3 separate regions of the Homo sapiens genome follow, and all the other regions are linked to region 2. Evidence: promoter capture Hi-C in human tissues and cell types (Jung and others, 2019). All regions are on one chromosome and are shown on one strand. The core of a region is centred on a gene start or on the middle of the fragment in contact, and the rest is flanking DNA. Distances in the headings are between cores, read along the strand shown.

Region 1 (2,965 bases), core at 1-2,500, 420 kb after region 2:
CCTATTGAAACAGACTGGAGGTTGGTAGAGAAGGTGGATATCTACGTCCATAAAATTTATCCTTATATTACAAACTGTTGGTTGAAATATCCAAATGCGTCTGTGTTAAAAAAAAAATTAAAAGATACCAAGAAGCAATTCCCAGTGTTTGATCATACAGCACCTTCCCAAGAATTGTTTCTTCTCAAGGAGCAGGGTATTTAATTTACTTTTTTCCATGCGTTGTGGGCTCCCTCCCCAGTTAGAGTTAACTGCTAAGTATCTCTCTCTCTACCACACACAGCCCAGTTTACCAGGTGGCAGTTGTTTTTGTTCCCAGGGAAAAGTTAAAATGGTGTGAATTGGTCAGTTTTGTCCAAACTTTGTGAAACCGAAATGAAAGTTTTGTTTTTTAAGAAAAGCTTTGCCTAGGGGTACTGCTGAACAAATAATGTTCAACAAGACATTTTAAATGGAACTCCTACTGGGAAGTAAATGTTAAAATTATAGCAGATGTCACTTCCTGTAACAAAATTCAGGAAACAGTCTTTGGTATGTGGGTGTTGTAACTTTTCAATTTTTGGAACTTTCCTTCAGGAAACTGTCCTGTCAGAAGCAAAGCAGTCAATAAAATATGAAGCACAACTTAAACTATGTTATACAGTGTAATTAAATTTTGATTTGGTGCATATGTTTTTGTGGTCAAGACAGACCCAAGATTATCACGTGACTTTCATCCTGGATAATGTAAGTCTGGATAACTTGTTAAATTGCTTCTCCCCCACTTCTCCCATTCTGGTTACTTTAAAAATACAGGTGTATCTGATTTACTCTGGACTTGAATTTATGGAAAGTGGTATAAAATTAATTAGTTCTCATTGTTTTGTACAAAACTATGAAACCTGTTTCCTCCCTAGCTTTGCAGAAATTTTGTCTCAATTGACAAACTGTCTACCTTAGACATTTCTAAGATGGCCTATTTAGTAAGTTGGTAGCTTTGAGCTTTGATAAAAGTTTGAGTCCATGATATTATGGTTTAAGAAAATTTTTCCTTAAAGGAAAACAGAACGTGTTATTGAGTTAATATTGCTGGGTTTTAGTTGTTGTTTATTTGCTGAAAGGATAGTCATTGGTATAAAGTAAGCTAAAGCTCTGTCCTTTTATATTTTTTCAGGTAATTTTGACCTAGCAATTACAGCTATAGGAATGTTTTCCTGTTACTCATTTACAGTCTGTGTCTCCCTCTCCCCTCCAGCCTCCTTTTAGAGTTAAGACGGTGCTAACTCTCCATTTAAAAAAGTGTGTAAAAAATAAACTTTGTACCACAGGGGAAAAATTAGGCAGTAACATTTACTGGCATTAGAATAGCAAAAGGATAAAATGAAACCTAGTGTATTACCTTAATACATAATTGAGGTTTTGCAACCTAAAAATATTGGAAAGAATTATTAATGTTGTTCAGATTGTCTGCTTATCTTGTGACTTGGTTTTAGTAAAATTCAAAGTGCCACTGGAACTTAGTTTTTGTTTTTAAATGGGAACTATGCCCAGAAGATGAAAAGTCCTAGGTTGGCAGTTAGATTGAATTTGATAATTCTGTCACTGCTGATGGTGTGAGTTTTTTATTTGTTCTTACCCTTAGGGCAGGGAGGGGCCTCCTCTTAAAAACACCTTCATTTCTTTCTTATTTTAGCAGTCATGTTTCTTTAAGGGTAAAGTAAAAATCATTAGGTTTACTTAATTCTGAGTTTAAATTTGTAGGCTTTATAAAAATTCTTGACAGTTTATGATAAGCCTAGCATAAAACTTCGTTTTCTCTCTGAGGTCACTCGTATTCTGTGTTGACATCCTTAAAGTATTGGTATTATCCATGATCTTAGAGTGTTTTAAAGAATGAAGAAGTCGGGCGTGGTCGCTCATGCCTGTAATCCCAGCACTCTGGGAGGCCCAGGCAGGCGGATCACCTGAGGTCAGGAGTTTGAGAGCAGCCTGGTCAACATGGTGAAACCTCGTCTCTACTAAAAATACAAACATTAGCTGGGCGTAGTGGCAGGTGCCTGTAATCCCAGCTACTCGGGAGGCTGAGGCAGGAGAATTGCTTGAACTCGGGAGGTGGAGGTTGCAGTTAGCCAAGATCATGCCGTTGCACTCCAGCCTGGGCGATCTTTTGGTAGCTTGGTGTAAATGACCTTTTGTGGGGAAAGAGGGAAGAGGGGAATAGTTAAATTGAATCGAGGTACGTTCCTTGTCACCCAGATCTTTTATATCTTTTGTTATATCTCATTTTATGGGTATTTCTTCCCAGCCCAAGTTTTTGTAAAAGTGATTTTATTCGAGGTCAGGAGATCAAGACCATCCTGACTAACACAGTGAAACCCCGTCTCTACTGAAAATACAAAAAAATTAGCCAGACGTGGTGGCGGGCGCCTGTAGTCCCAGCTACTCGGGAGACTGAGGCAGGAGAATGGCATAAACCTGGGAGGGCGGAGCTTGCAGTGAGCGGAGATTGCGCCACTGCACTCCAGCCTGGGTGACAGAGTCAGACTCTGTCTCAAAAAAAAAAAAAAAGTGATTTTATTGAAGTCTATTTTATATATCATAAAATTCACTCATGTCAAGTGACAACTCAGTAATGTTTAGTTACTTTACTGAATGGAGCGACCAGTTTTAGAACATTTTATCCCATACCTGGTAAGATCCCTCCTGCCCATTTACAGTTAATCCCGGTCCCCAGCCCCACCACCATAACCTACTTTCTGTCTCTGTAAATATGCCTTTTCTGGGCATTTCACATAGTGGAATCATAAATGGAGTATGATGGTTTCTTGCATCTGACTCTCTTTACTTGCATATGTATATATATTTTAAATTTACCAGCCTCAGCACATTCTGGCCATACTTGAATAATTTTTTGAGGTTCATCTGTGGTGTACCATGTATCAGTGGTTCTATCCTTTTATTACTGAATAGTATTCTGTTAATAGAT
Region 2 (2,904 bases), core at 105-2,604:
CTCCTTGGGAGCGGGGACTTAGCTTAAAATCCTGCTGTGTATTTTCCGTTGTGTTTAGCCCTATGAGTAATCACATTCAATGCATACTTGTAAGGCATATTTGACTGAAGATATCTATCATAGTTATTCATTTAGTAAATGATATAATGAAAACTCAAGTGCTCGCCAAAGATAAATCATTACTATTAATTCCCTCATTCATCATACATGTATGGCAGCCTCAGGGGCTAGGGAACCTAGGATTGCTGCTTTGACTTTTTTTGGGGAAGCCAAATAAGCCTCAGATCTCTCCACTTTGGAGCCAGCCATGAAATTCAGATTTACCTAGGGCTCAACATTAAGGGTCTCAGACTAAATTTATCTTCAGGTACCCTTTCCAGAGTGGACCAGTTTACCTTATACCTCTGAGAATAACCCAAAACTTTCAAAACTCAAATCACAGGATATTATTTGTTCATGAATTCAGCAAGACTCTCTTGTTTAACTATTGAAACTCAAATATTTCGGCTTGCAGCAAGGAGGGGTACAGCTGTCTGGATATACCTTGGCCAAATTTCAGTGTATATAGAAAAGTGGGAGGTTATCGACTATGTTAAACCTTTTCCTTAAATTTTCAAACTTCGGGATTATTTTAGTCTCATAGATAAAATAACAAGGCAAGTATTTACAAACTTTTTTCAAAAATATGAGAATTTCAGTTTTCCCTAGGGCATTTGGCGTTGTGCTGTCACCACACTTTTGAAGATAGCTTTACAACCGTGGGAAAACTCACCGGGCTTTTTTCGTTGACCCCGCCATTTCTAAGTTGCTATATTGCTGCAAGGAGCTGGCAAAGCCATGCTCTTCCTCTCCCCCATTCTCCTCTTCCTTTCAAAGACCAAAGCGCCCCGTGAGAATATAGAAACAAGGCTGAGAGGCAGCGAAGAGTAAGGGAGGAGCCAGCACTTACGCATTTTTCACTCTCCTCCTCACTCCCTAGGGTCATAGTTTTGATTCTGAAGTTAGAAGTGTGGGGGTCGTCGGCTGCATTTTCAACTTGGCCTAAAAGTTGGAGTTCACCACACTGCAGGCGCTAGGAACTCTGCCGCTCGGTCACCAACCTGAGCCTCTGGCTAGTCCGAAGAACGCGAAAAGCCAGGCCCAAGGCACTGGTTGTCATGGCAACCGGGGCGCTGGTCTCCCTGGCGACCTCGTCCCTAGGGAGGAGGTGGAGCTGGATGCCAGGCGGGCCAATGAGGTCGAGGGGAGCTCGGGGTGGGAGATCTGCGGTCCTCCCAGTGCCGGGGAATGGTTGAGTGACAGGACCGGGGGGGCGGAGCCGGCGCGGCTGCCCGAGGTGGAGCCCCAGTGGTGCGAGTAGCTCCAGCGGCCACGCTGAGGCGAGGGTGACACACCATGCTCACGGCCCCTGGAGACCGTCGTGCTGGCGAGCCGTGCTCCGTAGCTCCCCGGTCCGCCTCGGCAGCGGTCAGAGTCGCCTACAGGAGTTGAGCCGCCCGCGCCAGAAGGTTTTGGCGAAGCTCTTGGAGAGGCGTCGAGCACAGTAGGGCGGCGGGGGTGCGTTGAGCGCTCGGGGGTCAGGCAGTCGGCCGGGATCGCCGCTGGGGAGCGTTTCCGAGGCGAGGAGGAGGAGGAGGAGATGCTGCTCCTCTTCTCCCCCTCCCCAGGCTCCTTCTACAGCTCCTTCAGCCCACGCCCGCAGCCGCTTGTGGGAGAAGTGGTGGTGGCTCTCGGCGCCCGCGGCGGCTGCCGGCGGCCCGCCCCGACGCCGCGTCCCTGCAGCCCTCGCCCGGCGCTCCAGTAGCAGGACCCGGTCTCGGGACCAGCCGGTAAGGACGAGAGCCGCCCTGGGCTCTGCGCTGCATGTGCAGAAGTGCAAAACAAAGTACATTGCGCTCGTTCTCTTCCTCCTCTCTCTGCTTTCGCTCCAGTCCCTAAACCCAACTCCTCGGTTGCCCTGGTAGAAGGAACTTTTCTTTGGTTTTGGTGGTGGGTGTTTTTGTACGTTAGAGTGGGGGTGGGGTGACTGGAGTGGGGAAGAATGAGATGAAACTCCATTGCTAATTAGGTAGATCCATCTCCTCTGCGGAAGAAAGCCGGATTCTCGGGAATGAAACCCACAGGGGGAGTAAGAGATTGTGGGGTAATAGGGAGTGACATTGCCCCGTCGTGCTTGCACAGCTCCGCTCTGTGCGTGCTTAAGGGAAGGGCTCCCGGAGTCTGTTTCTAATTTCTGCAAATGATTGTGGAGATGGTGTGGTTAGAGGCCGCCCAGAAGAATGTGTGTGTAAGGGCTCGAGAAGGGGGTGGGATGGCGGGGAAGCAGAGGAAGAGGGGGCAGAGGGAGAGACACTGTCTGATGCAAGGTCTTTTATTGCTTTTCTTCTGCTTGCTAAAGTTAACACTCTACCCTCCGGCCCCCTAGCCCCACCGCTTTGCTCATTACGTGATACTGTAAGAGCAGACAGCTGGGAAGCTAAAGTTAAACCAAAGTCAAGAAAATTCTTACAAAGTTTAATTTCCTTCTGTTGTGAATATAATGGAGAGAGGAGGATGGGGAGAAATATCACTAAGAGATTTACAGCAATACAGTTTTCATTGGCCATACACGTATATGATCGACACCACCGCACACTTCCAACTAATCTGTTCGACAGCCTTGTGTCATTTTCATTTAATTGCATCTTTGAAACAACAAACGCGGTGACTTCATAGGGAGCTGCCTGGAGCTGAGCTCCCTCGCAGAAAATGGGGCAATCGGGTTTGTTTTCAAGGCAGGACCTGAACAAAATGTAGGACACCTGATCTGTGGGATGAAGGGCGCTGGTAACTAATTATAAATTTTAAGATTTTAAAATTTATATCTAGAAAGTTTACTAAAGGATGGGGGGGGGAGTAAAAGTG
Region 3 (2,700 bases), core at 12-2,511, 490 kb after region 2:
GGAGAAAACAATGCAAAACAATTATCTTTTTGTCTCTTTTATGTTTATTTACATGTAGTTTAGTTTGTTAATTAAGGTGTTGCTTTATAATTCAGGCAGCCTGCATCTTCTTAAGTGTCTAAAGCCATAAGAGAAACTTAGTTTCAAATTCTGAGTTCCGGGACTGAAAACATGCCAGCCATTGTTTATGGGGTTGCCTCTGTGTGGCTGGCACCCTGTGATTCAGTGAGGGTTCTGGCCCTAACTTCCATGGAACATATTATCTAGAGGGAGTAGAGAGGATGCAATAACAGAGAATGTACGGATAGTTACGGGAGCATCTGCAAGAGAACCTGGACAGTTTTGGGAGTAAGGGAGCATCAGGGATGTTTTCCAAAAGATGTCTTTCATCTGCAACCTGAAGCTTTAGTAGGAATTATCCCTGACACAGATGGAAGAGAGAAGAGGGCTCCAGATCGGGGCAAGAAAAGTGTGACTTATCTAACTAGCGAGTTGGGGGTAGATGAGCAGCAAATAGTGAAGACTGAACAGTAATCCAAAAGGTGGTGACACATTTGAAGAAAAATAGCTTGGACATTTATTTTACTCTCTTAAAAATTAAACTTTGGATAGATAACCTATTGGGATTTTTTTTTTAAGCTGTCATGCTGTTAAAGAATGCCTTGATAATGTTGGCACCGCCTGTTATTCCATATATCAGTGCCTTTTGATGGTTTTGAAAGTGTGTTTTATTAGATATGTTTTAATATGAAAACATATTTGACCTTCATACCAACCCTGAGAAGTGGTTAGGTTTGGTAATACTATACCTTCTCACAATGAGGAAATAGTCCCAAAGAGGATGAATCTTATCCAAGATTCAGCGCCAGTCTTCAGCAGAGCCAGATCTAGAATCCAAGATCTTTTGGCTTCCCTCGTCAGCACATTGCCTTTGTGCTCTCTCTATTTCCTGGTTAGTGATAAGTAAGCCTTTTTGAGAATAGCATTGTTATAAAAATGCCGCTCTGTTGAAACTTGAGAGACTTAAAACACAATATTGCAAGAGCCTCCCAGTCTCAGTGGCATGTTTCTTCAGCCAGCTCTTTTTAGCTTATTAAAACAAACTGTCATGCTTAGAAGACATTCACTCACATATTTTATTTTGGTATCAGTGCGTTTCCTTACAGTTACACAATGTCATTCCAGGAGGAGTGAGAAATCAGGCCACGGCCAGCATTGCTGCCTTTTCTGGTCCGAAGCACTGGTAGTAGGAAGAGGCAGTTAAATGTGAATACCAAAATGCTTCTTTGTAGAAGCAAAGGAAAAACGTAGCTCTTGAAAAAATGTTTTAGGTTATGCATAGGACAACTGGAATCACACACCCTCCTAAAATGCTAATATATTTGTTTCTTGCAGCAGTGTTGAGGTTTTTAGAAAACTGGTATAACAGTATTCTGAGCCAGCTCAGCTGCTTCAGAGCTTTTGTGTGTCCTTGCATAGACAACTTAATTTCTCTAGGATTCAGTCTCCTCGTTTTATTTTTAAAATTATTTTATTTGTAAATACCTCATCGTGGACTCCAAAAGCATGTCTCCTCGTTTTAAAAACTGGCATAATACCTACCACAAAGGTTGATGTGAGAATTAAATAGAGCTTTATACAGAATTCCCTCAGGCATTTTTAAGTTTATGTAATAGGGATGTATCTTACAGTTGATGGGTACATTTAGTGTAGTCCCCCTACCTCCCAAGCTAATAATGGTGCGTCGTACAATTGATGGTACCAAATTGAGGTGATAATAACATAGAAAGAGTTTAATGCAACGTGAAGTACAAAATGCATTCAATAAGTAGCTGCTATCATTTTTTTAAAAATTAAATATGGCTGCTTGTTAAGGCCATATCCCAGGAGGAAAGTGTGGTCTCTGCTGGGAGGTTGGTCTACATACAGGAAGCCAGATGTGTGAGATGGCTCTAGATAGGCAGAAGGGGAGAGCTCGTGCCCTCTAGGAACCTATTAATAGATATCAAGGGTGGGAAAAGGCAGTGTTTTGTGGTCATGTTAAAGTCAGTGTCTATACCATTGAGGAAAGAGCTAGCCAGAGAAGGACTTACAAACTAGATTTTCTTGATTCATGCAACTATCATAGAAATGTTTATTGTTGCTTTTTGTCATTTTGTGTTCTTTAAGGACGTTGTACATTGAATGTCTTCAGCCTTATCTCAGTTGTGGCTTAGAGAGAGCTGGCCAGGACCAATTGTTTATTCTTTGACCATGGTGTTAAAGGGAGAGTCTGGCTCCTTTTAGTAGGAGTAGCAGTATTTGGCTGGAGACCCTATTGGGAGAGTGGATTTTAGGAAAGGGGTTAAGAGCCAGGTGCAGTGTCACACACCTGTAGTTCCAGCTACTCTCTGAAGGCTGAGGTAGGAGGATGACTTGAGCCCAGGCCAGCCTGGGCACCATAGCAAGACCCCATCTCTGTAAAAGAAGGGGATTAGGGGATTAGGATGTAACGGTTTAACTGCTCCCCTTTTGGAAAACCTCCTTCCAGTGGCATGCTTGGAGGTGCCAAGTTGCACTTTATGAGACGAGGCAGCCTGTCCTTGTAGATCTTTCCCTGTAAACAAATCCAAAAGATCTGTCTTGTAGTTTAAGTGTCTCTAATTAGGGTGGCGAGAAGAGTGAAGATGTGAGTCTCAGGTAGATGGAACATAAAATGAT

Evidence for each region. Contacts are between HindIII fragments. The study calls those that stand out against the background at their distance.
Region 1: a fragment that was not itself captured here is called in contact with the fragment with the promoter of PTPN13 in region 2 in 1 of the 25 tissues and cell types used here (hippocampus).
Region 3: a fragment that was not itself captured here is called in contact with the fragment with the promoter of PTPN13 in region 2 in 1 of the 25 tissues and cell types used here (hippocampus).

Annotation. Positions count from the first base shown.
Region 1 is chr4:87,014,020-87,016,984 of GRCh38, forward strand. The region is part of intron 2 of AFF1 (ALF transcription elongation factor 1); the gene reads left to right. Among named protein-coding and RNA genes, the nearest start is that of AFF1, 80 kb to the left of the region's middle. The HindIII fragment of the contact is 6,307 bases long and covers 1-2,965 here.
Region 2 is chr4:86,592,961-86,595,864 of GRCh38, forward strand. PTPN13 (protein tyrosine phosphatase non-receptor type 13) reads left to right here and starts at 1,355. Exons shown (of 48, transcript NM_080683.3): 1 at 1,355-1,829. It also overlaps a transcript of MAPK10 not described here. RefSeq lists an enhancer at 1,006-1,592. The HindIII fragment of the contact is 10,688 bases long and covers 1-2,904 here.
Region 3 is chr4:87,078,202-87,080,901 of GRCh38, forward strand. The region is part of intron 4 of AFF1 (ALF transcription elongation factor 1); the gene reads left to right. Among named protein-coding and RNA genes, the nearest start is that of KLHL8, 140 kb to the right of the region's middle. The HindIII fragment of the contact is 9,071 bases long and covers 1-2,700 here.